Regions from separate parts of the Homo sapiens genome. Here all the other regions are linked to region 1. Evidence: promoter capture Hi-C in human tissues and cell types (Jung and others, 2019). All regions are on one chromosome and are shown on one strand. Each heading gives the region's core, a stretch centred on a gene start or on the middle of the fragment in contact. The rest is flanking DNA. Distances are from core to core; before and after follow the strand shown.

Evidence for each region. Contacts are between HindIII fragments. The study calls those that stand out against the background at their distance.
Region 2: a contact is called between a fragment that was not itself captured here and the fragment with the promoter of ANGPT4 in region 1, in 3 of the 25 tissues and cell types used here (IMR-90 fibroblasts, lymphoblastoid cells and mesenchymal stem cells).
Region 3: a contact is called between the fragment with the promoter of SLC52A3 here and the fragment with the promoter of ANGPT4 in region 1, in 2 of the 25 tissues and cell types used here (H1 embryonic stem cells and mesenchymal stem cells).
Region 4: a contact is called between a fragment that was not itself captured here and the fragment with the promoter of ANGPT4 in region 1, in 2 of the 25 tissues and cell types used here (adrenal gland and lymphoblastoid cells).

Annotation. Positions count from the first base shown.
Region 1 is chr20:911,109-919,007 of GRCh38, forward strand. It overlaps ANGPT4 (angiopoietin 4), which reads right to left and starts at 5,226. Exons shown (of 9, transcript NM_015985.4): 1 at 4,798-5,226. The coding sequence starts at 5,106. LOC105372492 (a long non-coding RNA gene) reads left to right here and starts at 2,331. Exons shown (of 3, transcript XR_937185.3): 1 at 2,331-2,572; 2 at 6,218-6,313. The HindIII fragment of the contact is 12,950 bases long and covers 1-7,899 here.
Region 2 is chr20:1,077,905-1,085,803 of GRCh38, forward strand. No RefSeq gene overlaps it. Among named protein-coding and RNA genes, the nearest start is that of PSMF1, 37 kb to the right of the region's middle. The HindIII fragment of the contact is 3,614 bases long and covers 3,162-6,775 here.
Region 3 is chr20:764,549-772,447 of GRCh38, forward strand. It overlaps SLC52A3 (solute carrier family 52 member 3), which reads right to left and starts at 3,952. Exons shown (of 5, transcript NM_033409.4): 1 at 3,749-3,952; 2 at 660-1,277. The coding sequence starts at 1,226. RefSeq lists an enhancer at 4,127-4,626. The HindIII fragment of the contact is 8,066 bases long and covers 271-7,899 here.
Region 4 is chr20:782,016-789,914 of GRCh38, forward strand. No RefSeq gene overlaps it. Among named protein-coding and RNA genes, the nearest start is that of SLC52A3, 17 kb to the left of the region's middle. The HindIII fragment of the contact is 3,684 bases long and covers 1,651-5,334 here.

The DNA.
Region 1 (7,899 bases), core at 3,976-6,475:
TGGAACCCTGACTCCCAAACCAGGTCAGTTTGGGAGGGTCTCAGGCTGGGCAAGGACCCCACCCTGGGTTCCTCCTTGGTGCTCTCTTGACCCACACCCAGTTAGGCAGGGCCTCACAACTGCCAGGCCGAGGGGCCCAGTTATTCTGAGGTTTGATGTCAGAGACCTGGAGCAAACAGCAGAGGCTGGGGCAGTGCCAGGTTGGGAGGCCCCTGCCCAGCCCCTGACCCCTCTCTGCTTGGCTTTGGGTGCAGAGGAGGAAGAGAAAGAGGCCTCGGCTGAGCAGCCAGCTGCAGGGTGGGCATTGGTCATTTGGCAGATGTGCCCTGGGTCTTCAGTGTGGACACTCGGGGAGGTAGAGGTGGGAGGGATGGCCTTGGGGTGAGAAAAGGAGGAGCTGAGAAAGAGACAGGAAAAGATGCAGGGAGTCACTTTGATAGCCAACCAGGAGAGAGAATCAGAGACAGAGACACCCACAGAGTTAGCAACAGTGAGTCAGGGCCACCGCGAGAGCCCCAGGAGAGATCCACAGAGGCAGAGAGACTCAGAAATAGAGACAGGCTGACCACAGTGGCTCGTGTCCGCCGTCCCAGCTACTTGGAAGACTGAGGCGGGAGGATCGCTTGAGCTCAGGAGTTCAAGGCTGCAGTGAGCTGTGATTGCACCATTGCACCCCAGTGTGGTTGAGAGAGTCAGACCTTGTCTTTAGGAGAGAGACAGAGAGAGGGAGAGAGGGACAGAGAGAGGGAGAGAGAGACAGAGAGAGGGAGAAAGAGACAGAGACAGACAGAGATAGACAGGGAGATAGGCAGAGAGAGGGCTGCCATGGACCCCAGGCCAGCAGCTGCTGGCTGCTCCCTAAAGGTGAGAAAGTAGTTCTCACCTGCAGTTTCCAGGTGGGGTCAGCCCTGCCTCTGGGAGCTCAGAGACTGGGGAAGATGTGCTGCCCTCAGGTGGTGGGGGTGGGCCAGAGAGGCTGGGGCTTGTGTCTGGCCCTGGTTTTCCTCATTCTCCTCATCTGTATAATGGATCATTCTGTGGGGCCATGAAGAGAAGGCAGAGTATGGCACTTCTTGGATGGGACACCTGGGGCAACTGGGGGAATGGCAGTCACACACGGGAGCCCTTATTGAGCACCTGCTGTGTGCAGAGGCTTTCTCTGCTCTGCTTCTCTTGACCCCACATCAAAGGTCAGGGGTAGGTGCTGTCATTCTCCTCCCAGCCTCCGGATTAGGCACTGAGAGGGAAGGGCCAGCACTGGGTCCTAGAGGGAGGGCATGGTGGACAGAGGAGGTCATGTGACTAGCCACTGAGCTGCCCAGCCCAGCTAGAGATGCCTGCACTGCAGCCGGCTCTGTCCCCCAACCTCCTCAATATTCCTGCCTGCAGCTTCTCATCCATATGAGCGGGGTGGAGCAGAGCCCAGAGCTGACGTGCAGCCCCAGGAGCTGGCTCCAGATGGGAGTTACTGGGGCAGGGGCTTTCCAGGAGCGAGGAGGAGGAGAGAGAGGGAGGCAGAAGGAGGGGGAGAGCAGGGAGAAGAAAGGGAAGGGGAGTGCAGGGGAGGAGGAGAGTATGAAAGAGGAGAGAGAGAGAAGAGGTGAGGCCGGGGCTCTCCCCATGCCTGATGAGCACTGGCAGTAGGACACAGCAAGCTGTATGCTAGGAAAGAGTGCGTATCTGGGGACTTGGAAACTCTGCAGTAGAAGGGAGCACCAAGAGCATCCCATCCTCTCTAGATCTTGCTTCCCTTGCCTCCTTGACACCTTCCAGAGTCAGGAAAAAGTACCTGCAGTTTGTAGTGAGAATCCAGATTGGCTTTCACTGCTACATGGCTCTGGCAAGTCACTTTCCCTCTCTGGCCTGTTTCCTCACCTGTACACTGGGGGAACAGGAGGGGAGTTGGGGGCACAGGCTGAGCAGATGATGGCTTCTGGGATTCGCGACAGGAAGGATCTCCCCTGTGTCTGTCTAGATGAACAGAATCTTGCTGAGAGCTTGTTCATCCCTAATGGCAATGGTGATGATGGTGATGATGATGCTGATGGTGCCATTAGATGAGTATTTTAAAACTCTTTTTTTAACTTTTCTGAGATGTTAGAGAAAAAGCCAAAAAAAGGCTTTGAGTTTCAGAAGATCTGAGATATGCCTGGACCAAGAGAAGAACCAGAGGAAGGTCACAGCCACAGCCACAGAAGGTAGCAAGCACTCCCCACTGGGGACCAGGAGTGTCAGAGGGGGCAGAGAGAAATTATTGTTTACATGAACCAAGGGAGACCGAAACCTGCTCATCTGTAGCCATTTGGTAAGGAAGTACCTGCAGCCAGGTCAGCTGAACTCCCATATCAGAGATCTTAGGCCCTACGGCACTCTACGGTGACCTGACTGACCCTAGCTCAGAATTTTCAGGCTAGGTGAATGGATGCCTGGAGAGGACATTCCACCCCAAGCTGAGGCACTGGACCAGGTGACCTTCTGATCCTGCAAGCCATCAGTTCAAGCCATCAGCTCTCAGCCAATGTTTCCCAAGCATCCGACACCCAGGGGATTCAAAGATGGATGAGAGTGAGAGGTGAGACTTGGGGTAGGAGGCCCAGTGGGAGGTGATGACAGCATCCTGGGAAAGATGACGAGGCCTAAGCCAGAAAGATGGACCATGAGAGAAGCCTAGGCCACAGGATGGGCTGGGCCAGCTGCCTGGGGGATAGGTGGGAGCCACAGGAAGCCCCCAGGGCACAGCCTGTGGCTGGGTGGTGGTGTCACCCTAAACAGAGACAGACAGGCAGGAGGAGGGTGTTTGGAGAAGAGCAGGGAGTCGTCTCAGGCAGCTTTGGAGTTGAGACACCCATGGACCCTCAGGGAGGTGTTGGGGGAGATCCAGGTCATGGGTTTTGGGCTCAGGATCCCATCAATGCCAATTTTGTGTCATCACGGAGCAGGATGGAGACCTGGGACCTGAGAGATTGGAAGGACATTTATGCATTCATGCATTCACTCATGCTACAGACATTTATTGAGTACCTACTGTGTGTTCGGCACTATTCTAGGCCCTGGGAACCCAGAAGTGAGCAAAAGAGACATGGCGCCTGCCCTCTGGGAGCTCACACACCAAAAGAAATGTTTTTAAGAACATTAGGTAGGGATAAGTTCTAAGAAAAAAAAACACAACAAAGCCAGCAGAGGGACAAAGGGTGGAAGAGGAAGGTGGTTATTTCGTACGGGGAGGACAAGGAGGGCCTCTGGGGAGATGGCGCTGGAGAGGATAGGAGGCTGGGGTAAGCAAAGTGGGAGTCTGGGAGAGGGAACTCCAGGGAGTAAGGGTTCTTGCTTTTATTCGGATGCATGGTTAGCCCTGGGAGGAGGGAGAGGATGTAACTTAGGTTTTGATGGGGATTCTTTGGTCTGCTGCATGGAGAACAGGAGGTGGGGGCCGAGTGTTAGCAGGGAGCCAGGGGGGCAGCCAGGACAGCTATCCTGCCTGGAGCCAGAGGTGGTTGTCAAGCTTGTCTGCTGTTTAATACCTTCTAAAACTCCAGGAATTAGTTCGCATCCTTCATTCCTCAGTCATCGCCCAGACTGTCTCCTGGGTCCCTCTCCCTTTCCTTGGTAGCTCTCACTTAGGGACTCTGAAGAGTCCCATCTCAGACCCCCCAGGATGTCTCCTGTACCCTCATGCCCCGCCAGGGCCAAGCCTGCTTTGCACACCTCTGTAGTCAGTGCTTCTCCGAGGGTACACAATAGGTGCTCACACTGCTGAAAGACGAAAGCATGACAGGGCATTCTACAGCAGCCCTGGTCTTGGGCCAAAACCACAGTGGCATCCTCAGCTCCTTGCTTCCTCCCACTCCGCATCCAATTCACCAGCAGAGCTGATGGGCTCTACCTCCAGAACCCACCAGAATCTTACTGGCCACACCCCCTCCTAGCCCCGTTCTGCTCCAGGCCTCCGGTACCTTGCACCTGATGGCTGCAGCGGCCACCTCTTTGGGCTTCTTCCTTCCACCCTGCCTCCTACAGTCTATGCTGTTGAAATCGAATCACGGGTGTCTGTCTCTGCTCACAACCTTGCAGTGGCTCCCATGACACTCAGAACAAAAGCTGAAGTCCTTCCAGTGGCCCCCCCCCCAGCTGCATGGCCTGCCCTGCTGTCACCTCTCAGACCTCCCCGCACCCTTGCTCCCTCTCCTCTGCTCCAGCTACACAGGCCTTCGCCCCATGGTTCTCCAGGCACACACCGCTGCGGATGCATTCCCTCCTCACGGTCAAAATACATGCAGCTCCCTTTGCAGAACGTTCCCTCAAATACCTGCCTGGCCCACTCTATCATTTCCCTTGTTCTCTGGGTTCAAATGTCACCTCCTCTGAGAAGTACTCTCTAATGATCTGACCTCAAGCAGCCACCCAGGGCCGCCACTTGCCCTCTTTCTTCTTCATTTTGCTTCACCATCTGACATAGTAGATTATCTCTTACTGCCTCTTTCCCCTACTAGTCCAGAGGGAGACATACTATACTGTCGTATCCCCAGCACCCAGGAAGGCTTGGTCCGTTCAGCCCTTGGTCAGGGCTGAATGGATTTCTGTTGGATGAATGAAGGGACGGCAGTTAAAGAGCCAGGTTGCCAGCTGACATTGCCCAATCTTGCTGTGTGGCCTCAGACCCACCCCTGCCCCTCTTTGTGCAGCTCAGAGACAGCCCTCTGTGCTCAGGGAAGGCCTCTTGGATGGACACTCCACCTGCTGATTGTGACAGACCCCAAAGCCGCCCTCTGCCCCCTGCAAACCTCCCATGCCCCGTACCTTCTTCAGCCACTGCGTGTTGTTCTGCAGTGCCTGCTCCAGCTGTTTCACCTGCTGGGTGGGCAACTTCCCCAGGTGCAGTGGGTTGGCCAGTGATTCTCTCTGGAGGGTGTTGGAGTCCCTGGAGACCTCAGGCCCCGGAGGGCAGGGCTCAGACTTGGGCAGCAAGAAGGTGTAGCTACAGTGGCCGTGCTGGACTACAAGTGTCTCGCAGCCCCTATCCGCCTCCTGCCTTGTCTGTTGAGCCACAGACATGGTGGCAACCACAAGGAGGAGGCTGCCCTGCAGCATGGCTAGCTGGGAGAGCATCTGAAGATGTGTCAATGGCGAGGGATGTCTGCTCAGAGCCCTAGGGGCTGTGCCTGGGATGTCCTGCTGCAGCCAACAGTGGCCAGGCTTGCCTGCAGCTGCAGCTACAAACCTCTGTCTGGCCGAGCTCTGTCCAGGCAGCTATTTATACTTGCTCTGAATACCACGGCTGCTCTGCTTGCTTCCTCTCACCGCCTCCCTCCGGCCCCACCCGACACCCTCTCACCTCTATTCTTCACTCCTTCCCTTCCTCCTTCCTCAGTCTTGGTGGCACGTCGCCCTTACCCTAAGCGTGCACCAACCTTGCTCTGTCTGCCTCACCTCTGAGCCCTCTGATTATCCAGTGAGGCCTGGCTTCCCTGCTGGAGGGGAGGGAAGAAAACAGCACACAGACACGCGCACACACTCATGCACACACTCACGAGCACACACTCACACGCACGCTGACACGCACACACATTCATGTACACACAAACGCCAAGCTCCAATGCTGCCCGCTTTGGAAAACCAAATGCAACTTAACTCTCCCTTCCTGTCTCTGTCTTGGTCTCCCTCTTTCCCTCCACCCCCATCCCCTGCCCCCCAAGTCTAAGATCTCAAGTTTCAGTCCCGCTGCCATCCCCTTCTCTCCCCGCTGCACCTTCCTCCCTCTGGTTCCATGTTAGCGCTTGGAGTACAAGTGACCCCCGGAGAGAGCAGAGGGAGGGGAGGAGGCAGAGGGGTGAGGCTGGGGAGGGCCCAGCGAATCCACTTTGCCTCTGGAGACACAGAAAATCCTTCCAAGGTGGGGCAAGTGAGCAACCCAGCTGGGAGTTGCTTCCTGTCCTCTCTTCTCCCTCAGGGCCAGGGGAAAGTGGTATGCCCCAGGATGGCCCTGGCTTGGTTGCTTGTAACAGTAATGAGAAGTTGTCATGTCCTGGGGCAGATTGTCCTGGGGCTGCTGGAGTGGGGATGTGGAGAGGAGGCAGTGGGGAGAGGAGGTTGGAGTGCCAGGAGGCTAACCCTAGATCTCGCTCCCCGACAGCTGGCCACGAGACCTAGGGTGGGCAGCTGTGCCTCTCTGGGCCTCCACACCCTGATCTGTAAACTGGGTAAACCTTATCTCTTGCAGGAGGAATGCGTGTGAGTCCTCAGCATGGGGATGGAGAAGTTTTCAGCTTCTGGGTTCAAATCCTGGCTCTACCATCTACCAGCTGTATGACTTTGAGTAAGTCACTTAACCTCTCTGTGCCTTCATTTCCTCCTGAATGAGGAAAATAATACCACCTACTTCACATGGCATGAAAATTAGGTGAGTTAGAGCAAGGTTGGCACAGAGCGAGCACTAAATAAATATTTTCCGTTGTCAATGTTATAGTTGTCATTGCACCTCCCCTCCCACGACCCACTGGAGCATAAACTCCTCTAGGGCAGGGATTTGTCCCTGGGGGACATGGTCTCCAGGCAGAAGGTGCCCAGGAGTTGGTGGGGCCTTTCCTGCATGGGCTGCCTTTATGTTCTGCCAGCTGTTTGGGCTTTTCCTCTCTCCCTGCTTGTTTCCTCAGAGTAGGGGCCAGTCTGGCTGTTTAGTATTTTCCTTTTTGTTCTCTCAAATCCCGATAGAGTTTTGAATTGGGGCAGGCTGCTTCTGGGCAGCTGTGAACTGTGGTCTCATCTGGGGACTGAGAACATTATACCAGGTGTGGGGCTTTTGCAGGCAAAGGAAAAGCAGCTGGTTATCAGCCTCCAGCCTCCCCTGAGCCTTCCCACATGCTCTGAGCTCTGCGTGCCCCGCTTGGCCCCAGTTGCCTCAGCTGTAAATGGGGTCATAGCACCCTGACCATGTGAGAGTAATGTGGACTGATAGCTTATCACAGCTCTGGGTGCAGAGAAGGGCAGTGTGAATGGTGGTCGTCATTATGATTGTCTTGACTGAGCTGCTTGATAATCCCAACGAGGCAGTTACACCAGGCCCCAAGCTTAGATGGGCCCCATGCTTGGTTTACACTCTGCCAGCACTGTCTTGAAATTCTTAATACATTTGGAACAAAGTACTCAGCACTTGCATTCTTCATTGAGTTCCACAAATTAGGTAGCAGGCCCTGCCTGGGAAACATGAGGCTTCCCTCATCCCTCACTCTGCTCCTGACCTTACCATCCAATCAGACCTGTTCTTCCAACATGATCCTTTAGATATTTCCCCCTCTGTCACCTCTTCACTACTCAGAATGCTGGAGCCAGCACATCTGGATCGGAATCTTGGCTTTCCTGACCCCCTATTTGTGTGCCTTTTGCCAAGTTGCCTAACCTGTCTCTCAGTTTCCTCTTCTGTCAAAATAGTGATGTTACAGTGGCTAAAAGACCGATTCCTGCAGTGAGGTTAACACAGAGCCTTTCACATAATACATGCTCAACCAGTGACAGCTGTCATCATTACTCCCTGCTATGATATGAATGTTTGTGTGCCCCCAAATTGATCTATTGAAACTTAGTCAACAAGGTGATGGTATTAGAAGGTGGGGCCTTTGGGAGTGAATAGCTCGTGAGGACTCTGCCTTGGGAATGAGATTAACGCTCCTATCAAACATGTCCTAGACAGCTGGCCTTCCCTTTTGCTAGGTGACGTTGCAGTAAGAAAGCACCGTCTATGAAGCAGGGAGCTCTCACCAGACACCAGATCGGCTGGTGCCTTGATCTTGGAATTCCCAGCCTCCAGAACTGTGAGAAATAAGTTTCTGTTGTTTATAAGCCCCCCAGCTTAGTGCATTTTGTTATAGCAACCTGAATGGGCTAAGACACCCCACCATCACTCTC
Region 2 (7,899 bases), core at 3,719-6,218, 170 kb after region 1:
TTTTTTAAAAGGGGGTAATCCCAAATAGTATAAGTTTAAGGTCTCATAAAACTAGACCAAGCCTGGGCACAGGGGTTCACACCTATAATCCCAGCACTTTGGGAGGCTGAGGAGAGCAGATCACCTGAGGTCAGAAGTTCGAGAGCAGCCTGGCCAACATGGTGAAACCCCGTCTCTACTAAAAATACAAAAATTAGACGGACATGGGCTAATTTGATGGGCGCCTGTAATCCCAGAGGCTTGGATGTGAGAATCTCTTGAACCTGGGAGGCGAAGGTTGCAGTGAGTCAAGATTGTGCCACTGCACTCCAGCCTGGGCAACAGAGTAAGACCCTGTCTCAAAAACAAAAACAACAAAAAACTAGATCCAGCCCTACTTCCGCCCTCCACTTTCTCCCTGCCATCCCTCCAAAGAGATGTCAGGACTAAAAAAGACAGGTAGAGGCTGACTCCCATTCAGATTCCCCCTTCTTGGCACAGGACAGAAACTGAGGTAATTCCACAGGTGGCGTCTACACAGACAGTTCTGAGCAGCCTCTTGCAGATTTCTGTGGGTCAGAGAATCGAGGAGAGCCAGGCATTTCAAGGTGGCACAGGTGAGGCATCAAAAGCTAATAGTCCTGGCTGAAAATCAGGATGAGGAGGGCACAGGAGCTGCCAGCATGAAGCGATGACATGTAGGACTAGATGTTCTTCCTGTTCTGGGATTTTGTGAGCCTCTCAGGACTTAAACAAGCTGGTGGGGAAGAAAAGTCTTAAACTGACTGTGATTGCCACCTCAATCCCTACTCTTCTCTGTTCCCACCCAAATGAAGCCTTCTTCCCTAGGGCTTCCTTGGCCTCTGGAGTACAAAAACCTGATCTCAGCTCTCTGCAACCTCCGCCTCCCGGGTTCAAGCGATTCTCTCACCTCAGCCTCCCGAGTAGCTGGGATTACAGGTGCATGCCACCACACCTGGCTACTTTTTGTATTTTTAGTGGAGACAGGGTTTCACTATGTTGGCCAGGCTGGTCTCGAACTCCTGACCTCAAGTGATCTGCCTGCCTCAGCCTCCCAAAGTGCTGGGATTACAGGTGTGAGCCACTGTGCCCGACCTCTTTGGCCTCACTTTCTCACATCTTCCAGGTCTCTAAAAGAGTTACCTTCACAGGACACTTTCTCTGACCATTCTGTATAAAACAACACTCCTTCTCCATCACTACCTAGCCCTTCTCCTTGACTGATTTTTCTTCAGAGCTCTTATCACCACCTATGACATTCTATCATACATTTATTTGTTTATTTGGTTTTCATCTGTCGCTTTCATTGGTTTGCAACTTAAACTCCGTATTTTAATATGGGTTGAATTTGCAGAGATTTTTATCTGATGTGTCTATGGTTATATTTCTTCCTTTCTCCAAAAAAAATTCATGGAACATAGAGGCCCTTGATAAACATTTGTTGAATTAATTAATTAATTAATTAAGTCTCTGCTAGCTGCATGAATGGAAGCTTAAAAAATAAATGGTTTGTATAGGAAAAATAAAGAAAGATATTCACTGGAATTTGTACCTGGCTCATCTATATTTGGTGTTAAGATAGATTGATTTTTAAGTCTTGCTGTTTATAAGATCTGTCCTGGACTTGTTTCTAAGTTCCTATAATACCATGACACGTGTTAAGGATCCTAGAATTCCTGGCCTCAGTGGCTCTGGACAACTCACCCTAAAATATAAAGCCAGATCTTAATGACTCCAAGATGTACAGGATAAGCCAACGGCACCCGGCTTGATTTCACACAGCAGTTCCAGCTTGGGAGGATAAGTGAAAAGATTATCACAAGGAAATTGTTTACAGGGACAAGCAAGCTCCAGACATGGCCATCACCACCTCAGGGCCCTGGCTGGTTTTTGTTTCACATAAGCAGTTTTCTAAGCAAAGAGAAGGATAGAACCTGGCATGGTTTTGTAGGTTTATGTAGCTCCAGGGATGAAAGGGGGGCACCCACAGAGGTCAGGGATGTCTAAGTCATCAAGGAGAGGAAAGGCTCTGAGAACTTGGGCATCCCAAGAGGTGACAGGATGGTTCTGGCTTAGGGCCAACATAGCCACATGCCTACAGGGACCAGGCAAGTAGCCTGACCCCTGTGACTTAAACAAGCAGAGGTGGCCAGGTGGGGGCCAAAGCAGACAGGCCATCTATATCCCTTCTCAAGGGGGTAACTCTGACTAATTTTTGCTAAACAAGGATGAAAACCCAGTATAGCCAGATTTATTTTATTTTTCATTCAAAGTCAGAAATTCAGGTTTGCATGTGAAAGCTCCCAACTTTAAATGTTGGCATGAAAATCAGATTTTAGAAGCACTATTTTCCAGTTAATATTTCCATGTAACAAATCACCCCAGATTTAGTGACATCAAGCAACCATTTTATGATGTCCATGGATTCTTCGTGTCAAGTTTGGACAGGGCAAGTGGGGACGGCTTCACTCAGCTCCATGGTGTGTGGGGCTTCAGCTGGGAAGATTCAAATAGCTGGAGCTAGAATCATCGAGAGGCTTCTCTACTCAGATATCTGCTCTCTGGGCTGGGATGACTCAAAGGCTGGACTCGGCTGGGACTGTCCACTGGGGCACCTACACATGGCTTCTCCATGTGGTCTGAGCTTCCCACAGCATGGTGGCTGTGTTCTGAGACGAAGTGTCCTGAGCGTGGGAGCTGCAGATGAAAGCTGCATGGCCTTTTATGGCCTGGCTTCAGTTCCATAGTGTCACTTCTACCATACTCTACTGGTCAAGCAGCCACATACCCACCCAGATCCAAGGGAAGGGGAGCACAGACTTCACCTCTTGATGGAAGAGCATCAATGAATTTGCAGCCATTTATAAAAGCACCACACACTGTGTGGGCCACACCAAATGGGTCTGCAGGCTGGATTTGGCCAGAACATTGCTGGCAGCATCTCTGAAGGGTGGAAGTAGACTATGGCCCAGCTCACATAGTGAAGTGAGGTAGCAACATCCCCAGAATATGTATATGGGTATGGGGCCAAGACAGAGGGTGCCTGCCTGGGTGGGCTGCCACTGGAGCAAACGGCCATGTGGGACTGCTGGTCCAGACACCAGCATTCTGCCTGCTCACAGCCTTCCTCTCCCCTGACCACAGACATGGGCCCATCCCAAGCTACAGCCTGACCCCAAAACACATCTTCGCCATGGCTGAGTCATCCTCTTCCTCAGGGACCCAAAGCCCCAACCATGGTCCCTTCTTCTTCCTCTCTAGGAGGACATTTTTTTAAGTCCTTGCACCTAAAGGGCTGATCTCACTCTTTTTCTAGGTGCCATAGACTCAATGTGTCCATCCAAAATTCATATGTTGAAACCTAATCTCCAATGTGATGGTGTGTGGAAATGAGCCCTTTGGGAGATAAAGCCCTTATAAATGGGGTTAGTGCCCTTATGAAAGAGGTCCCAGGGAGATCTCTTGTCCCTTCTGCCATGTGAGGACACAGTAAGAAGACTATGAACAAGGAAGAAGGCCCTCACCAGACACCAAATCTGCCAGTGCCTTAATCTTGGGCTTCCAACCTCTAGAACTATGAGAAATAAATTTCTATTATTTATTTATAAGATAGCCAGTCTATGGTAGTTTGTTCAAGCAACATGAACAGACTAAGACACCAGGCAATCTGTCATAAGTGCCTCTGATGGGCCCAAGTGTTCCCAAGTTGGAAATACCTTCCTTACGCATCACTGTCTCAGAGGTGATCCCTAGAAGAGTGCACAGGAAAGAATATGCAAGGGAAACAAGGATAGCCAATGCACTTTTATGTAATACACACAATGACCCTGTGAAGCAATTATTCCAGTTTAAGAGATGAAAAAACTGAGTTTCACGGAAAATCCAAAACTTGCCAGGGACACCCAGGAAAATGGGTGGTTTCATACTAGGTGGAACTGGGGAATTGGCTTCAAAGTGCAAGTGAGCAGGACAAGAGAAGACCAGCTTGCTTAGACTGGAGGAGGTAGGTTAGGCAGAAGTGAGGTAGGCCAGGTGGGACCAAACGCTAAAGAGCCCTGCAAGTGCCACAAAGTGTCATGAACTTAATGAGTCAGGCAGTAGGGAACCATTCAAGGTTCTCGAGCTGAGGGATAACTTCACTAATTATGGCCAATGATGATGCAAGCAATTTCTTACAGAGTGCTTTATTTTGCAGATCTCCTTTTCCATGCGTTTCCTCATTTGTTTCCCACCTGTGTGGTTAGGCTCCCCATTTGCCATATGAGCAAAGTAAGAGTCCCAGAAGTTACAATATGACAAAATTACTACTAGCAAAGCCAACACAGGATGCAAGCCTCCTCCCTCCACACCCCAGTGAAGGGCAGTGGGGACTGCACGATACAGTGGGCATCTGCCATTCATTCTGGCCACCTAGCATCATTCTCCTTCAGCCCTTCGTTCCCTTTAGGGAACTCTCCCCCTACCTCTCCAAATGATTTTAATGGGGCTGTCAATCATGTGGTCCTATGCAAGAGTGAGCACCAGGCCAGGCTGACCAATTAGAGTCCTTCTCAGGGATTGACATGGATGCTCGGGGAAAGACAGTCTCAGGTTTTCTCTAGGGTTGCCAATGGCAATGAACCTCTGACAACTATCCTTTTGTCATATGGGGAATATCTGCTTGAGAATGACGTGAACAAACAAGACACCCAAGCTGAGAGATAAAGGTAGGAAGAGTGCACCTAGGACACCAATAAGATCCTACAGATTCAGCCATGTCTGGGTTTCTCAGTTTTGAAAAACACTTTGATTGGTTTTGTCACACGCACCTGAATCAGCCCTTGGACCTAAGCTTTATTTAGAAGTAAAATGGACTTGGGCTCTCTGTAAACCACAATTTCTTCATTTATCAAATAATAATAATCGGCTGGGCATGGTGGCTCACTCCTGTAATCCCAGCACTTTGGGAGCCCTAGGTGGGCAGATCATTTGAGGTCAGGATTTCAAGACCAGCTTAGGCAACATGGTGAAACCCCATCTCTACTAAAAATACAAAACTTAGCTGGGCATGGTGGTGCGTGCCTGTAGTCCCAGCTACTCAGGAGGCTGAGGCACAAGAATCACTTGAACCCAGGAGGCAGAGGCTGCAGTGAGCCGAGATCACGCCACTGCACTCTGGCCTGGGTGACAGAGTGAGACCCTGTCTCAAAAAAAAAAAAAAGAAAAAAATGAGAGAATAATCAAAATAGCAACTTAGCAACTTAGAGAGTTTCTGGAGAATTAAATATACTTCATAAACTGTGAGGTACCAAGAAAAGAAAAGAAAACTGTATTGAGGGACATGAAGGCCTAAGTAAATGGTGAAATATGGCAAATTCATGGATGAGATGTCTCAATATTATAAATATGATCATTTTCTTCGCTATTTAATTTACAATATAATCCAATTTTAGACAAAACTAAATTAATGAACAATGCAAATTAGGCAGTATTTTAAAACAGGGTGGCTATTTTCAAAATGACAGTGTTAATATTTTTAAGTTGAGGTGCCATTATGCTGAGATAGCTCCAGTGCTTTGGGTTCCTATGTAAGCAAATCAAAGCCTAATGTAAACCGTAAAATGATCCTGGAGACTTAGCTAATTTGAAACCGCCAACTAACCTCTAGGGACTTTCCACCAGATCGTGCCCAAATAAGGCAAACACCTACTTGTAGCCAGTCAAGCAATGTCTTTGCTTTGCTTCCACATTCACCCTATAAAAGCCTGCAGCTCAACTGCTAAAGTGGAGCTCTCTGAACCTCTTCTAGCTCTGAGTACTGCCCAATTCATGAATCACTTTTTTGCCCAAATAAACTCTGCTAAATTTAATTTGTCTAAAGTTTTTCTTTTAACAACAGAATGGACCGTATTTTTAGTTCCCAAAGCTCTCTCTTGCTCCCTATAAGAGAATTATACTTCCTGTGCCATTGACATCAGGCCTGGACATGTGACTTACTTTGGCCAATGATATATGACCTGAGTGAGGTAATGCCACTTCTAAGCAGAAGCCTTAAGAGCCACCACGTTTCCACTGTGGCTTTTCTCTGCCTTCCACCAGAATAGTGTATTCCAAATAGGGTTGTTTTATCAGCTGGGTCCCAGGAAGAAGAGGATTTGGCCAGAGCTGCAGCCAGTCCTGAGTGTAAGGTGAATAAGAAATAAATATTTGTTGTTGTAAGCCAGGGAGATTTGACGGTTATTAGTTATGCCAGCATAACTTAGGGAAACTGACTAACACAGAAGTATAACCTAATGAATTGACAAAATGCTGCCATTTTTATGCTTCATTAAAACATAAATGAAAACTTTTTGTAAAATAGTACCTAGATGCTTTACATTGGTTTCTCATTGTTCTGCTAAACATGAGCATTCCCAAAAATGTTTACAATAATTTATATTTTTAAAAAAGCATTTTGTGAGCAAAACAAGCTTGGGGAAATGCTGCAGGTCACTGTCTTTCTCATGAGATTCATCCCTCATATTAGCATATTAAAGTCTCTGCAAAGTCCTACAGTAAAGAAACCTTTACTAACTCAGTATTTCTTGAAGTTATTTGGTGATGAACCTCAGCCCACCAATTAACATGTCATGAGAGATGAGGATACAGGTTTTTCTCAAAATGAGTATTTTTCTCTCAGCTATCATGGATTTAGCACTAGGTGCATGTATTATTTAAATCCTATAATGACCCCTCTGAGAGAGGCATCATCAGTTCCCATTTTATATCTGAGAGAAAATAAAGGCTAGGAGAGAGAAATTGACTTGCTCAGAAAAACCACAGCAAAAATATAAATGAATGAATAAATGAATGATGGAGCCAGGACTTGAATCACAAGTCTGGCAATAAAGACCAAGCTCTTAACCTACCTTCCTCTTGCCTCCAAAATCAACTCCTGGATTCTGGAGCTAATGATGAAAGCCCTTCATCAGTTGAAACCACAGTACCTACCCAATCCAATCCTCTCCATTTTACTCCACACCACACCTCCTCATTTTCCACTTACCATCTTTTTGGCCATTTGTTTCTCACTAAGGGCATTCCTTCCTGCCACCATCCTAACACATCTTTTCCATCCTTAAGCTTTAAGTCTTAACTTATGATCCCTCGTCCAAGAAGCCTCCCTTGATTACTTTTCCCCCAGCAAACTTTCTCTGATATTACGTGTATAGATAGTGGAGCAGAACATTTCCCTGAGATGCAAATTTTCAGATACCCTCTCAGACCTACTAAATCAGAAACTCTGGAGATAGGAATCAGAAATCTGGACTTTAACAAGCCCCCCACGTAAGACAATGATGTACTTCAAGTTTAAGAACCATGTTGGTCTAAGCCAACCATGTTGGTTCCTTTCCCTGACTAGCAATTAGCTTAGTAAGAGACATTGGACCAAGTTCTGGACAGAGATGTGAGAGGAATAGGCAAGAAAGGGGCATATGGGGGAATTTCCTCACTCTAATAAGAGACATACTGAAAAAGGCTATACCCATTAAGGTGTTTTTTATTTCAAGCAGTAAAAAATCTAGCTAACATAGGCTTAAATAAATAGAAATTTTATCCTTCTCATTTTCAAAAAATCTAGAGGTTGACAGTGACTGTGATGCTAGTCATCACAGGCTCAGCAATGTCTGTGATTTTCTTGGCCTCTCCTTCTGAATACAGGATGGCTGCCACAGTTCAGGCATCACATCATATTCCAGGCAGGAGGAGGAGGTAGGGAAGGCTGCTGCAAGCAATGTCTGTTTCTCTTATCAGGAAAGTAGAGGCTTCCACTCATTTCTCATTGGCTGGAATTGGCCATGTGGCCACTTCTGGCAGTAAAGTGGATATTCAACTTTTCCAGCCTCCTTAATGAAGACAGGCAAGGAAGGGTTAGGGCTG
Region 3 (7,899 bases), core at 2,702-5,201, 150 kb before region 1:
GCTCCACCCATCGTCTAGGAAATAAGGGCCTTCAGGACATGCCATCCCAAAATATGACTGTAGGAGGCCAGAATATGCCACCCCAAAATTGACCTATTGGCATATTTTTTATTTCTAGCTGGTTATTTTGAAAAATTGCAGGCTAAGGAGTAGCTCTGAAAAGTTGCCATTTTGTAAGATAAATTTACATCTAAAGGAAATTTTTATTAGTAAAGCTATCTTATCTGTACCAAGAAAAGGTATCTGTACCACGAAGGGGTATCTGAACCAGGAAGAGAAAGGTGATGGCCTTTATCACCCGAGGAACTTTTATCTGCATAACAGTGCAATGTTTATTCACCATAAGTTTCCTCCCTTCACTCTCCCATAATTTGTCTCCACCATCCTGCAGTAGCCTCAAGCCCCTATTCCCTTTTGTAGCTCAGGATGCTATAGAAGCTGAAATCATCTGGCCCTTTTTTGAGTCTCATATTTTTTGGGGACTCCCATGCGTATGTATGTAAGTAATTAAAATGAGTTTCCTGCTGTTGATCTGCCTTATGTCAGTTTAACTCATAGGCCGACCAAAGAACCTAGAAGGATGGAGGTGAGCAGTTTTTCCCTCCCCTACATTTGTGATAAAGCCAAGTGCTGAGATGGCTCCGGGTGATGCTGGGTACCTGTGCGATGTCAGTCTCCCTCGTGGGTACAGGGCTTGGTACGCTGTCTGATATCTCAGTGACATTGACGCAGGTAGTGAGACCGGAGCCCTGGGCAAGAGCCACCAGGGCGGGCAAGAGGCCGCTGAGTCCTTCACCCACAAAGAAGGTGGTGAGGTAGTAGGTGGGCAGCCGGCTCATGAACGGCAGGAAGGTCACTGAAGAGGTGCAGTCCACCAGGGCCAGGAAGAAGGTGAGGACCAAGAAGGCGATGCTGTGGTGGCCGTCCAGCACCCAGGAGGTCATATTCCAGAGGAAGGCAAAGATGATGCAGGTGACGGTTCCCACGCCCAGCAGGGTGAAGATGATGGGCACTTCGGAAAGGCAGCTGGGCCGGAAGTGATGGAGCAGGGTGACCAGGAGGGGCCCGATGTTGGCCAGCTGGATGACCACCGTGAGGTAGGAGGGCAGGTACCAGCCCTCGGGCAGCTCCATCACCAGCAGGGGCAGCTCTACCCAGAGCCCATTGATGGTCACCCAGGAGCCCATTCCGAAGACGCAGACCAGCAGGTGCATCAGGAAGGCCATGGCGGTATCTGCCCTGGGCCAGAGGCTTTCTCAGATCAGCCTGCAGCGGGGCTGGCAGAGAAGGACACCAGGTGAGTAATTCCAGCTTCACCACCTAGCAAGATGCTGGGACCTGGGGCCCAGAGTTTTCTCTTATTACTCCCCTTCCTGTGAACAAGCTGGCTTTTTTTTTTTTCCTTTGAGACATAGTTTCACTCTTTTAGTCCAGGCTGGAGTGCAATGGGATGATCTCGGCTCAGTGACCCTCTGCCTCCTGGGCTCAAGTGATTCTCCTGCCTCAGTTTCCCAAATAGCTGGGATTACAGGTGCATGCCACCATGCCAGCTAATTTTGTATTTTTAGTGGAAACAGGGTTTCCCCACGTTGGTCAGGCTGGTCTCGAACTCCTGGCCTCAGGTGATCCGCCTGCCTCGGCCTCCCAAAGTGCTGGGATTACAGTGTGAGCCACCACGCCTGGCCCAAGCTGTCTTTTTATTAGCAGAAAACAAGAGAAGCCTTTCCTAACCGTGATTCATGAAAGAAAAGTTCAATCCGACACACAAAAGCAAACAAAGCAGCTTCTGCAAAAGATACCAACAGCAAGGTCAAAAGTTAAATGAAAACACGGGGAAAACATTTGCCACATAAATCACAGACAAAGGGCTCATCTTCCTTGTCAGGCCTCTGAGCCCAAGCCTGCGCGTGTACATCCAGATGGCCTGAAGTAACTGAAGAATCACAAAAGAAGTGAAAATGGCCGGTTCCTGCCTTAACTGATGATATTACCTTGTGAAATTCCTTCTCCTGGCTCAGAAGCTCCCCTACTGAGCACCTTGTGACCCCCACCCCTGCCCGCCAGGGAACAACCCCCTTTGACTGTAATTTTCCACTACCTACCCAAATCCTATAAAACTGCCCCACCCCTATCTCCCTTCGCTGACTCTCTTTTCGGACTCAGCCCGCCTGCACCCAGGTGAAATAAACAGCCTTGTTGCTCACACAAAGCCTGTTTGATGGTCTCTTCACATGGACGCGCGTGACATTCCTAATATATAAAGAGTTTTTAAAAATCAAGAACAAAGAGACCCCATATAGAAGAGGGCCAAGGATATGAACAATTCAGAGAAAAAGGTACAAATAAGCTTTAAACACATGAAAATATTATCACCTTCATTCACAATAGGAAAACTACTCCAGGTGCCATTTCTCACCATGAGATTGTCCCAAAGCCTGACAAAATGACTCATGTTCAAGGTTATTATAGATTGCGATCTTGTTGGTAATAGCAAGTTATGGGAAATTTTCTCCTGGGTGGCTACCAACAGAGAGGGGGCTAATTAAAGGGACCTGCTGGAATACCACATACCTGTTTAAAGGAATAAGAAATAAGGAAAGCAGATCTTGGTGACTGATAAGGAAAGGTCTCCAGGCTATAATAATAATCTTGAAACAAAATCAAGGCAGGTAAATGGAACCAGGAAAAAGTGTACTGCCTTTTGGTCATAGAAGAGGAGGAAAAACATGTTTTCTTTGCTTGTACTTGCACAAAGCAACCCTTGAAGGACACACAGGGACTGCAGGGATGTTGGTGATGCCTCTGTATATCTTTTTTTTTTTTCTTGTGACAGAGTCTTACTCTGTCACCAGGCTGGAGTGAAGTGGCACAATCTCAGCTCACTGCAACCTCTACCTCCCGGGTTCAAGTGATTCTCCTGCCTCAGCCTCCCAAGTAGCTGGGACTACAGGCGCCCACCACTACGCCCAGCTAATTTTTTGTATTTTTATTAGAGATGGGGTTTCTCCGTGTTAGCCAGGATGGTCTCAATCTCCTGATCTTGTGATCCACCCTCCTCAGCCTCCCAAAGTGCTGGGATTACAGGCATGAGCCACCGCTCCTGGCCCTGCCTCTGTATATCTTTTAATAAGAGTTTTGATTTGTGAACCATGTAAACATATTACCTGATGCAAATATATGGTTACCTGAAATAAGATTTCAATCTGGCTTTTTTTCCTCCTGAAATTATATCACTCTCTACGTGGCCTTTGGAGACCACTTCCTCTAGCCCTCCAGAGCCATTCTGCCATCTGTTTACCCCTTTGTCAGCTACCAGTGGCAGCCCACCTGTGCTGTTACTAACAACTTTCTTCTATCTATCCTTAGTCTGAGCAGTAATATGGGAGATGCCAGGAGTGAGGCTCTGGAGCCAGCTGTTTGAGTTTGACCCTGGCTCTGCTGCTTACAATCTGGGTGACCCTGGGCAAGTGGCTTTGCCTCTCTCTGCCTCATCTCCTCATCTGTAAGTAGGGGATAGTGATAGTATGAACTCCGTGGTTTGTTGTGAGATATAAGGATGCTGGTGAGTTTATGCTGTTTCCAACAGTCCCAGCATAGGGTAAGCACCTCTAAGGGTTACTGATCATTATCGTGAAATGGCAGGTTTGGTGACATCGTTATTTTTGTCTAATTCACATGAGAATTAATACATGACTATGAAAATTTAAAAAAGGAAAAGATTCCCCTACTAGGTATCAAGTGAACTCACCAGTGGTATATGCACCTTTTTGTAGAGACACGCTAACTGGGCCAATCTTCACGTTTTGTAGATGGGAGACGAGGTCCGAAGGGGCAGAGGGGCTCTCCTGGGATCTGGACTGGATCCTCTGCAGCAAGCGGCCTGTCCGGGACTCCTCAGTTCACGCTGCAGTCTTTAACTCCATACTTCTTCCTTCTAGTACAAAGCAGGAGTGTCCGTTGTGGCCACGCCTCACCCAGGAAACTCCTGAATCCTGGCAGCTCCTCCCCACGGTTCCCACACACGGAATTCCCTCACAGGGCTGGGACTTCCTTCCTCATACCTTCACTGAGCGAACCCAATGCTCAGTGGCCTTTCTGGTCACCTCCTTTTCCTCTCTGGGAGGAGCCACTCCTGGGGTGTAACGCAGTCAGATCCCCTAGCAGTCCCGCTCTGCCCCCTCCCTTCTGGGGGCCTCAGACTCCATTCCCTCCCTTAGGAAGCTGACTTGACTAATAGCACAGGTGAGGCCCACTCCAGGCGTGCCAAGAGGACCCAAGGAGGGAGGGGAAGCTCCCAGACAGCAGTGGCACACCTTTGCCTGTGCTGTCCTCCCAGCCTGGAGCACCAGCCCCCTCTGCTGTCCACATCCAAGCTTTCTACAAGACTCCGTCCTCCAGGAGACCTCTGGCTGCCTCACCTTCTCAGGCGTCCTCACCAGGGCCCATGACCCCTTCATTTCAGGTTGTTCTTGTGTGGGTGCATGCAGGCACATACCTTGAGACTGAAGCTTTTTGAGGGCAGGGGCTGCTTGGGAATCTGACATTTTGAAGGTGGAAGGGCCTTTCTCAATGACTTAGCTTAGGATTTGTAAATTGTTAACTCACTGGCCACTGCCAGACAGCAGATATATTACTTTGGTTTGCCCAGTGTGTTTAACAATTTGTTACTGTAATCAGCAGTGGAGGGGATGGCAAGCAACCTTCAGCATTTCTGGCTTCTCAGGAATATTTTGGAAGAAGTGGCCCCCCACTTTGGCCTCTTTCTCTGTTCTAGACTCGGGCCATCTTGGAGCTCTCCCCTGCGGTAACATCTGGAACCAGTTGCCTGGGTTCAAATCCCAGCTTCAACCCTTACAAGCTGAGCAAGTGACCTAACCTCCTGTGCTTCAGAGTCTTCTCTTGCAAAACAGCTATAGGCTGTCAGTACCAACATCAGAACTGTTGCTAGGAACATGCACTAAAGTGCTAAAACTGTGCCTGCCACATAGTGAGGGCTCAATGAACCATCATTATAAGATTACTATTTCAGCAAACGTATCAGTTGCATTCAAAAACATGTAGTTATTGGCCAGGCGCGGTGGCTCACGTCTGTAATCCTAGCACTTTGGGAGGATGAGGCGGGCGGATCCCTTGAGGTCATGAGTCCGAGACTGGCCTGGCCAACATGGCAAAACCCCGTCTCTACTAAAAATACAAAAATTAGCCCAGCATGGTGGCGCACACCTGTAATCCCAGCTACTCAGGAGGCTGAGGCCGGAGAACGGCTCCAACCTGGGAGGTGGAGGTTGCAGTGAGCCGAGATCATGCCACTGCACTCCAGCCTGGGCAACAGAGCGAGACTCCATCTTAAAAAAGAAAAAATAAAAAAAAGGCGCAGTTTTTGTTAGACAAATGGCCACTCAACTAAAGGACTACATTTCCCAGCCTTCTTTGTAGCTGCACATGGCCATGTCATCAAGCACAGGCCAATGAATTCAAATGCGACTTTGAGTAGTCTCCTTAGCCCGTTTCCTGTTTAGAAAAAAAAGTGCAGCTCGTTGCCAGCACTCATTTAATTTTATGTAAACGTGCTATTTGAGGCTGAAGCAAATCTGATTCTGACTGCTGTTTTTTTTTTTTTTCTTTTGAGACAGAGTCTTACTGTGTAGCCCAGGCTGGACTACAGTGGCTTGATCTCGGCTCACAGCAACCTCCGCCTCCCGAGTTCAAGCAGTTCTCGTGCCTCAGTCTCCTTAGTAGCTGGGATTACAGGCGTGCACCACAATGTCCGGCTAATTTTTTATATTTCTTAGTAGAGACGGGGTTTCTCCATGTTGCCAGGCTGGTCTCGAACTCCTGGGTTCAAGTGATCCCCACGCCTCAGCCTCCCAGAGTGCTGGGATTGCAGGCGTGAGCCACCAAGCCCAGCCCTAAATCTGACTGATTTTCAATGTGAAAATAACATGTAAAAACTGTTTTTGAAGTTATTTCTAACCAGAACTAACATCAGACTCATCTATTTCAGAAAAACTGGATTCATCAAACGAATCTTTGGTCAACAACTGTTCAAGAACAATGTTAACATCACACATAGGAATGCTAGGATTTGCTATTTTCAGCGATCGAGAATTACTTTGTTTTGTAAATGGAAATACCACGACTAAAACCAGAATGCTACAAATAGAGTGATGTCTTTTGTTTCCAAAGTCAATATACTAGAGCAAGGCAAAAATAATAATAAAAGCGAGGTATTTTGTGGCAAAGTTATCTTGGGGTAAACACTGCAGTCACAAGTGGGTATTCCTTCTGGCAAACAGGGAAAGAGTTAACAATAAGGGAGTGTGCCCTTCTGCTCTTCCTCCATTTGGCTGTCTGGAATCAGATGTGATGGCCAGAACTCCAGCAACGATTTTGTGCTATGAGGCATGTGGTGGGGGTTAGATGCATACTAGGCTCCTTTGGGATTTTGTGGCAGAGAGCACCCATACCAGCCCTGTTTTGCCTGTGTTGAACTGTTTTGTTTGTTTGTTTAATGTTGTTGTTAAATTGTAAAAGAAACTTCTATGTTGTTTAAGTCACTCTTATTTTATGTACAACAAAAGTACTCAGAGGCTGGGTGCAGTGGCTCACTCGTATAATTCCAGCACTTTGGGAGGCTGATGTTGGCAGATCACTTGAGGTCAGGAGTTCAAGACCAGCCTCCAACTGGTCAACATGGTAAAACCCTGTCTTTACCAAAAACACAAAAAATTAGCCAGGTATGGTGGTGGGCACCTGTAATTCTAGCTACTCGGGAGGCTGAAGCAGGAGAATTGCTTGAACTCGGGATGTGGAGGTTGTAGTGAGCCAAGAGCACGCCAGTGCACTCTAGCCTCGGCGACAAAGCAAGACTCTTGTCTCAAAAAACTAAAAGAAACAAACAGACAAAAACTACTCCATACTAAGTGCACAGAGATACACATTCCAGGATATATATTGAAAGATTATAGTAACCAAAAACTAATGAATACATTTATCTCCTTTACCACCTACTTTCTGACTCTGAAACTTAGGTCCTGTCCCAACCAGGATTTGATCAAAAATCAAAATTTAACAAAAGTAGTTGTTTAGACCCTTGGGGGCAAATGTCTTGCAGAGATATGAAAAAAAAAAAAAAAAGGAGAAGAGAGAAAGAGGGAGGAACAGAGGAACACAGAACCCTCCATATAGCATTTGGTACCAAAAGTATAAATTGAGACCAAGAGTCATTTCATATATCAAAACTCTAATTCATAAAGGAGTCAAAATTGTAGTGACTATCTGTATTCTGAATATTTCCTGAAATAGCCTCAGACATTCCAGGAGAAATGGACAGAAGCACAGTCCAGCAGTACAGGCCTGACTCACCCTTCCAGGTCAAGACAGCAGACGAAGGTGCAAAATAAACAAGGATATAGCAAAAGCAATAAATGATATACCTAGTAAAGAGGGCTAAGTCAGTAGTTAAGGGGAGTAGGCGAATTTGCAGATGATGGTGACCTTTGCCATATGAAAAGCTATTAAACTAATGAGAGTGTCCAGTTAAACATTTACAAACATCAGTAGCTTTCCCACAGAGGGCTGGATGGGGAGATGAGGGCAGACAGGGCAGAAGTAGCCTCACTTTCTTGTATGTTCGACAACTCCTAAGCTCTGAACGCCTAAATCCCTGCTCCCCACAAAGACGAATTCTCTGGTTTTGACCCAGGTGCTACCACGGCTGTGTCACTTGAGGGATGGGATTTGGCTCCGGGGGTCTGTTTCCTTGTCTGGAAACCAGGCACAGTGGGGGTGTGTCCCCACGTGACCCATCTGCCCTATGGCCCTGGCCCACTCCCAAATTATCTCCTTCCTCAAAAGTGAGGTGTGCTTTTGGACCTCGGGGACACAGTGAGGAACAGT
Region 4 (7,899 bases), core at 2,243-4,742, 130 kb before region 1:
GGTAGATCACCTGAGGTCAGGAGTTTGAGACAAGCCTTGCCAACATGGCAAAACCCTGTCTCTACAAAAATACAAAAATTAGCTGGGCGTGGTGGTGGGTGCTTGCAATCCCACCTACTCGGGAGGCTGAGGCAGGAGAATCACTTGAACCCGGGAGGCAGAGGTTGCGGTGAGCTTAGATTGCACCACTGCACTCCAGCCTGGGTGACAAGAGCGAGACTCCATCTTGGGGGGGAAAAAATGGGAAACTGGAGAGAGAAAATTACATTTCAGAAACTATAACACACCTGTTATTAAATTCCAGTGTTGCCTAATGTTGTTCAATTTTTATTACTTTAAATTAAATTCTAATTTTTCTGACTACGAGTTTCCAAAATAAGCTTTGTTTTCTTAAAGCCCTATGAACTGAAAACTAGACGTTTCAGCAGGCACTGCCTCTAAACGCCCCCCAGCCATCACAGGAGGAAACCTCTTCACTGCTGGAGCTGACAACTAATAACTGAGCGTGCCTGGAATCCTTTGCCCCCACATCTAATAAGTCCATGGAACCCAGGGTAATTGAGATGGCATCTCTTACAAGAATCAACTTCTGGGTCAGGTGCGGTGGCTCACGCCTGTAATCCCAACACTTTGGGAGGCCAAGGTGAGTGGATCACTTGAGGTCAGGAGTCTGAGACCAGCCTGGCCAACATGGTGAAACCCCATCTCTACCAAAAATATAAAAAAGTTAGCTGGGCATGGTGGTGCATGCCTGTAATCCCAGTTATTCGGGAGGCTGAGGCATGATAATCACTTGAACCCAGGAGGTGGAAGTTGTGGTGAGCCGAGATCGCGCCATTGCACTCCAGACTGGCGACAGAGCGAGACTCCATCTTAAAAAACGAAACAAAACAAAAAAACAGGAATCAACATCTGGATACATTACACTCGAGTCAAAGCCTGGAAAGCTGAGGAAGCAACCCCTGATAGCCAAAGGAACATCCTAAATATCAGTGTAAAGAAATAGGAAATTTTAAGCTCATAAAAGGTAAGTAACTGAGTGAGAACTACTTATCTTACTCAGTCTCACCCCTACCTCACCAAATACTTTTAGATGTTCCTACCTCTCCTTTTAAGACAAATATTAAAACTTTTTAATGGAAATTATTCACTACACCACCATTGTGGGAACTGCTTTACACACTCTATTATTTGCAGTGGGACTATGTACTACAGCACCCTCAGGATGGAATATCAGACAGAGAATCTCAATTATGGTACCATTTTGCTTAATTATTATCCTCATAGCAGGAATAACAGTTACTAACAGCAAATAACACATGGGCCTTTCCAGACATGTGCCTCTGCCTGTCATTGGGTGAGGAATGTTGTTTCTATATCAACCAATTAGGCCTAGTAAGAGGTGCTGTTGAAAAACTTAAGGAAAGGGCTATACCAAAACAACCAAATAGATTCTTGGTTTAGGAACAAAATCATAGCATGGGTCATCCCATTCCTGGGACCTTTCCTAATAATATGCCTAGGACTAATGTTCTTACCCTGCCTAATTAACCTTTTTCAAAGATTTTTAACTGACAGGATCATGGCCATTTCACAGACAACTACCCAAAAACATCCACAGACAGCGTTACTGCTACAGTTAATCCAAGACCAGAAAACTCTGTCCCCTCATCAGCAGGAAGTAGCCAGAAAGAACACCCTGCCTTTCATCCTTTTTATAACTATAAGGTCTGGATTGACAGAGCAGGAGCATTGCCATCTTGGACAAGCACTGCCATTCTAAAGTTCCCCTTGATCAAAAACCACCTAAATCCAAAGGGCATCAGCCTAATGGCTAAGGTCAGCATGACCATAAACCACAAATGACATCTCTGACCAGAAACATTCCAACCATAAGTTAAAGCCCTCCCCGACCAGAGACGTGCCAGCCCCAAGATAACCTCCCCTCCAGGTGGAGAGATGTCAGCCCCAAGATACCGTCCCTTCCAACCAGAGACATTCCAACCCTCAATAGACTTCTCCCCTACACAGGAACATTCCAAGCCTGTGATAAGCTCTCTTACCCAGAAACCAGTAAATACCCTTAGTATGTAAGAGAGAGCATTCCTGACTGAAATTGGACAGAGGCCCCTCTCAGGTTTATTCTTCAAAATAAACCTGTCTTTGACTGTTGAGCCTCTTTTCATGTTTCTTTCCTCTTTCTTGAACTCTTACAACACCTTTGTTAGGCGCAAATTTTCAGTGCTGCAAAAGAAATAGCACTCGAACATAAATTTAATTTTCTCAGCAAGGCAATTTTACTTCTATAGAAGGGTGTGACTTGTGGATGGAACAATGGTGAGAGCACACCTGAACAAGGGAGGGGAAGGGGTTTTTATTCCTGATGCAGGTAGCCCCTACTGCTGTGTGGTTCCCCTGTTGACTAGGATTGGACCACACAGTCTAAGCTAATTCCGATTGGCTGTTTTAAAGAGAGCAGGGGTACGAGTCGGAGTAGCGGAGTGAGTAGTTTGGCGGGAAGGACAGTTAGGAACAGGTGACTAAAGGTGACTCAGGTCAGTGCAGGTGACCAGGGGTGACTCAAGAAGGAGCAGGTGATCAGGGGAATAGATGTGAACTACTGATTAGAACTGGTGGAAAAGGTTGTTTACTGAAACTAGGGGCAAGGAGGCAAAGAGAATGAGAAAGTTAAACTTTAAAATGGAGAACAAAGAACAGGGGACCTGAATATACTCATACATTGGTTCCTTGGAGAGGATCTCAGAACTCATTGTACTTAACAATTTACAGGCTGAAACATTTGAAAAGGAATTTGTTATATCCTACAATTTCCCCCTTTCAATTTTCATAGTACTTCCTCTTCAAACTTTTTAAACATGTCTTGGCTTAGCTGCTCGACTTAATCCTCTAAAAGAAAAAGCTTATCTGAATAAGGTGGAGGTGAGTTAAGGAAGATTTTAGTAAGTGCTGCTTTTATAAGTCTTTGCACTAGCCCACAGATGCATGGTATGACATAACACCTAACAAGAATGAGTACAGCTATTACGGCTGCAAGAGAAGTAAGAATTGAGGCTGTGATTTCTTTCCATTTACTGAACCCCCTTTCTAGCCACCCTGAGAAAGGGTTATCGACTCCAGAATTTTAGCTAGTTCATTGGATAGAGTGGTAAGTCTTTATAAGGCCCTTGTTATGTTCCCAGTGTGGGCAGTGTTATTTGGGATAAAGGTACAACACTGAGTTTTAATCATAATACAAACACCACTTTTTCTGCTAATATCATATCTGGTGCCATTCTGTTTTCCCAGGCCATCTGGCTAGTGGGCCCCAATTGTTCTGCTATCCCTTTGACAGCATCCCTGGTGTAATTAATAAACTGCTGCTGATTATAATAGATGTAATTTATCCAGTCTACATTTTTATTAATCGTCACCCATGAAAATATTGACTTAAATCCTGCAGCTATTTGATCTCGGGCTTTAAATTCATCTGGTACTCCTAGTGGAACTCCAGTAATGTTTATATAAACATGGGGGTCAAACGACTCATGTAAGGCACTTCTTTTACAATTTTCTTTTTTATCATGTTGACGGAATGCTAGAGTGAAAGGGATGGCCAATTGGACTAGAGCACGAGTGCTGCTCTAATTGCTTGGCAGAGTATCCAGCAATAGTGCCCCTCAATGCCACCACACACCTGCTCAGGGATGAACAAGGGCAGACTGATGGGTAAGCTCTTGAAAAGGCTTGGTTTCACCGCACCCTGTTAAGTCTCCAAGGAATGCTAACTTTTCCCCCTGCCGTGAAAGGGACAGGTGAACTTAACATCAGGGGCTGGAGGCTGGATGGCCCTCCGGGCTGACCCACAGGGCTCTTGACCTCGGGGAAGAGCAGTGAAAGCGAACAGCAGTGAAAGAGTTTTGCCTGACTCATTGCCCCGGCTGTGGGGTTCTGGAAGAGAGCTACCATACAGCTCATGCCCTGTCCATGAGAGGACCACTCGAGGGGAAAGGGGACAATTTGGGTCTCTGGCCTGCCTGTCGCACAAGCAGTCACTTTTGTTTAGCATGCGAACAGAATATTTAATCCATTTCAGCCAAGCATTTACATCCTGGTACTCTGTTTCAATTGCTATAGTTTGTTTTAAATCTATAACTTCTACAACAGCTACTTTGGTTTTATCATTGGGTATATAACGAAAGAAGATCTGGTTAGTGGAGAACTTAGGAGTGGGAGAAGGGGGTGCAGGAGTTGAGGAGGCAATGAAGCACATTTCAAAGGATCCTCTGGGGTCCTTCCCTGAGACTTCTGCTCCTATACCATAGAAACGGTACTCTGGGGAGCAGAGGTGGTAATCTGTACTGGATTACATTGGTTCATCTGACAATGGGGTGGTCCATCCTTGCTCCTTGGTAGTCCATAAGCCATTAGACCAGCTAAAAGTTCTGTTCTAGGAGGGCAAGATTCCTAGTTCATACTGGGACCATCATCAATATCTTCCCAGACTAACTGATCCCAGTTAACAGATTTTCAGTCTGAGGAGAGCCAGGAAGGACAAAGATACTTTTCTGAAGGGGAGAGTTGCCTCTGGTTTGGCAGATCTCCACAGGTCATCCCAAGGCAAGCATCAAAAGTAATAGTTTGGGGCGAACTTGTTACATAAAGAACGAGAAGACTAGCAATAGAAGGGGAAAAGAAAGAGATGGAATGTAAGAGGATCAAACCCGTTTTAGCTTTAGCTTGGTTGGAGTTGGCCCTGGAATAGCTGTCCATGATTCTGGAGGGGGTGGTGCTCTTTTGACCTAGGTGTGATGAGTCCATCCTCTTTCTGCTGTTTGAACTGTGGTCTCGGTGGTTAGAAGCAACAGGTAGGGTCCTTCCCAAGCCAGTTCGAGTTTCCCTTCCCTCCAACTTTTGACAAGGACACAGTCCTTAAGCTGATGTTGGTGTACTGGAAACTGTAGGGGTGGTACCTGTTCTAAAAGACCTTTAGTTCTGAGGGAAGAGAAAGTGGAAAATAAACCAAGTATATAATTTCTGAGAAACTCATCTTTTGTTTTGAACATAGGAATGTCAGCAGTGGAGTGTAAACAGGGCAACCTACACAACATTTCATAAGGGGATAAGCCAACATCTCTCTGAGGAGCAGTTCAGACTCTCAAGAGGGCAATGGGAGAGCATCTATCCATGGCAACCGAGTCTCTAAGACTAATTTGGTTAGGTGGCCTTTTTTTTTTTTTTTTTTTTTTTTTTGAGAGGGAGTCTCGCTCTGTCGCCCAGGCTGGAGTGCAATGGTGCCATCTGAGCTCACTGCAACCTCCACCTCCCGGGTTCAAGTGATTCTTCTGCCTCAGCCTCCCTAGTAGCTGGGACTACAGGCACGCGCCACCATGCCTGGCTAATTTTTGTATTTTTAGTAGAGATGGGGTTTCACCATATTGGCCAGGCTGGTCTCGAACTCCTGACCTCGTGATCCACCCGCCTTGGCCTCCCAAAGGGCTTTTTTTTTTTTTTTTTGACAGGGTCTCTCTCCGTAGCCCAGGCTGGAGCGCAGTGGCGCGATCTCGGCTCACTGCAAGCACCGCCTCCCGGGTTCACGCCATTCTCCTGCCAAAGGGCTTTTTTAAAAAATAGTTTGGTTCATTCTTTCCACTCTTCTTGATGAAGGTAGGTGCCAGGGAGTATGATATTCCCATGTTATATCCAGTATCTGGGCTAATTTCTTAATGACATGTACAGTGAAATGAGTCTTATTATCTGAATCAATGTTTTCTATTAATCTAAACTTGAGTATAAGATTTTCAACTAATGCCCTGTCTATGTTATTATCAGTTGTACTTGAAAAGGAAATAGCTTCTATCCAATGAGTAAGGTGATCTACTATACTAATAAATACTTCAGATGATCAGTTGGAGGCATCTCTGTGTAGTCAGTCTGGATACTTTGGAATGGCCTTAAGCCTGGACTCCTTCCCCCAAGGGGTAATGTTTTACTAAACAACTGTCTGTAACCTGTTTGGCCAGGGTATAAATCCTATGCACCCATAAACTCTGATGAATGTGTCACACGAGGCTTGGGGCCTCCAATGGGTCCTTTAATGCAGTTGGAATAAGACTTCCCTCATAAGGGGTTTGGATAACATTTCTCTCTGGTCTAGCAATATCCATTTTCCTTCTGAATTCTCTTTAGCACCTATTTTTATTAGTTTTTAAACCAAAGAAAGCCAAACACCATTTTATATTTGATAATGCTTCCTGTGTGATTTTATACCAGATAAGCTAAATTTCACCTTTATATTAGTGTGCTATTAATGTTAAACTCAATTTTAATAAAATCTTGTAGACATATTTATTCAATTTTAATGTCTGACCATAAGGTAAAATTGTTATAGACTCTTTCTAACGCTTCATAATTTTTGTTAAAGAGCAGGTTAGTACTTTAAGAAAAACCTGTTGTGCTTTTATTTTAATGTCCAGTTCACAGAAAAACTGGATGACACCCCTTTAACTTTAGCCAATATGTTTACACACAGAAATTCCTTTACAATTAACATTTCAAAACTTGCTTAAACCTTCAAAACAATTTTTTAACCTTTTAATGTAGGTAAAAATCCACATTCTTATGCCTTCTTATAATCCTTTTACCAAAAGTATATTTTACTTTCCTTACACGCCTTGAACATAAACTGTTTCTTCAATAGTTTTACATTCAGGAGGCCTAATTACTTTTAAATTATACAACATTTCTTGCATAAATTCCCTTTTATAACATTTTCCACGACTTTCACAGACCATCTTTGACATGACTTAAATTTCTGACTTGTGAACATTCCTTTCTTTAAACAACCAGTTAATTTATTTTAGGATGAGAATTTACCGTATAAGATTCTTTTTACATAAATTCTCCTTTTTTCTTAATGTCAAAGATGATAATTGTTTTTTCCCAAAGCAAACTTCCCTCATGTCTGTGGACTAGACTGCCTAAGGCCACAAGATTAGAAGTTAGGATAATACATGTTACACTGTTAACTTTTAGCAAATTTTACTTCTGTTGAAAACCTTGTAAGTTTGGAATTTTAATTAAAGGAAGGCTTTTTTGGTGTCCGGGGACATGGACAATAGTTATTTTTTTGGCAACTGAAGGTTATTTAATACTTGGGTGATTAATTCCTCGTGGACCGGGTCTTGACCTTTGCTATTAATAAGACCTGGTTCAGTCCAAATTTTTCCACATGCATGAGCCACTCCAAAGGCACACTGAAAATTGGTATAGATGGTTCCTTCCTGGTTCTGTAAGTACTTTAAGGCTTGGCTGAGTGCAAACAGCTCACACGTTTGAGCAGACCAATTATTAGGCAATTTTCCTAACTCTATCTCTACACCTTTAACCATTGTTCCCTATTTCTCATTCAAACTTGGACATAACGGTATGTGAAAAAGAGCCTCTTGTGACTGTTACCTCTTTACAATGGAATGTTAAGCAACCCCTCAGAAAGTAGGGAGTAGCAAATCAAATCTTTGTAACTACATTTCAGCCTTTGCCGGTTGAAATGTCAGAGCCCCGGCATCAGAAAGTGGTCAACTCAAGGGCTGATAAGAAGAATTTACCAACAACAGTATAGGTTTGAAAAGTAAAGTTTTATTAGAAAGAAAGAACATTGCAGAAGAGTGCAGCGAGGTGCCTCAGCAAGAGGGGACTGAGAGGGCTGTGGTGGATATTCCTTAGGCGCATATATGAACCTTAAGGCAAAAGCTTGAGGGTAATTTGGAGCATACTAGCCACGTAGGTTATGATAAATGGTTACATTTGTAGTTATTTTGGTGCCTTAATGTCAGCAAGGATTGCACAGTGAGTTTCGCATAGAAATTCTGGTTACTACAAAATTTTTGAAAGACCCCTGGA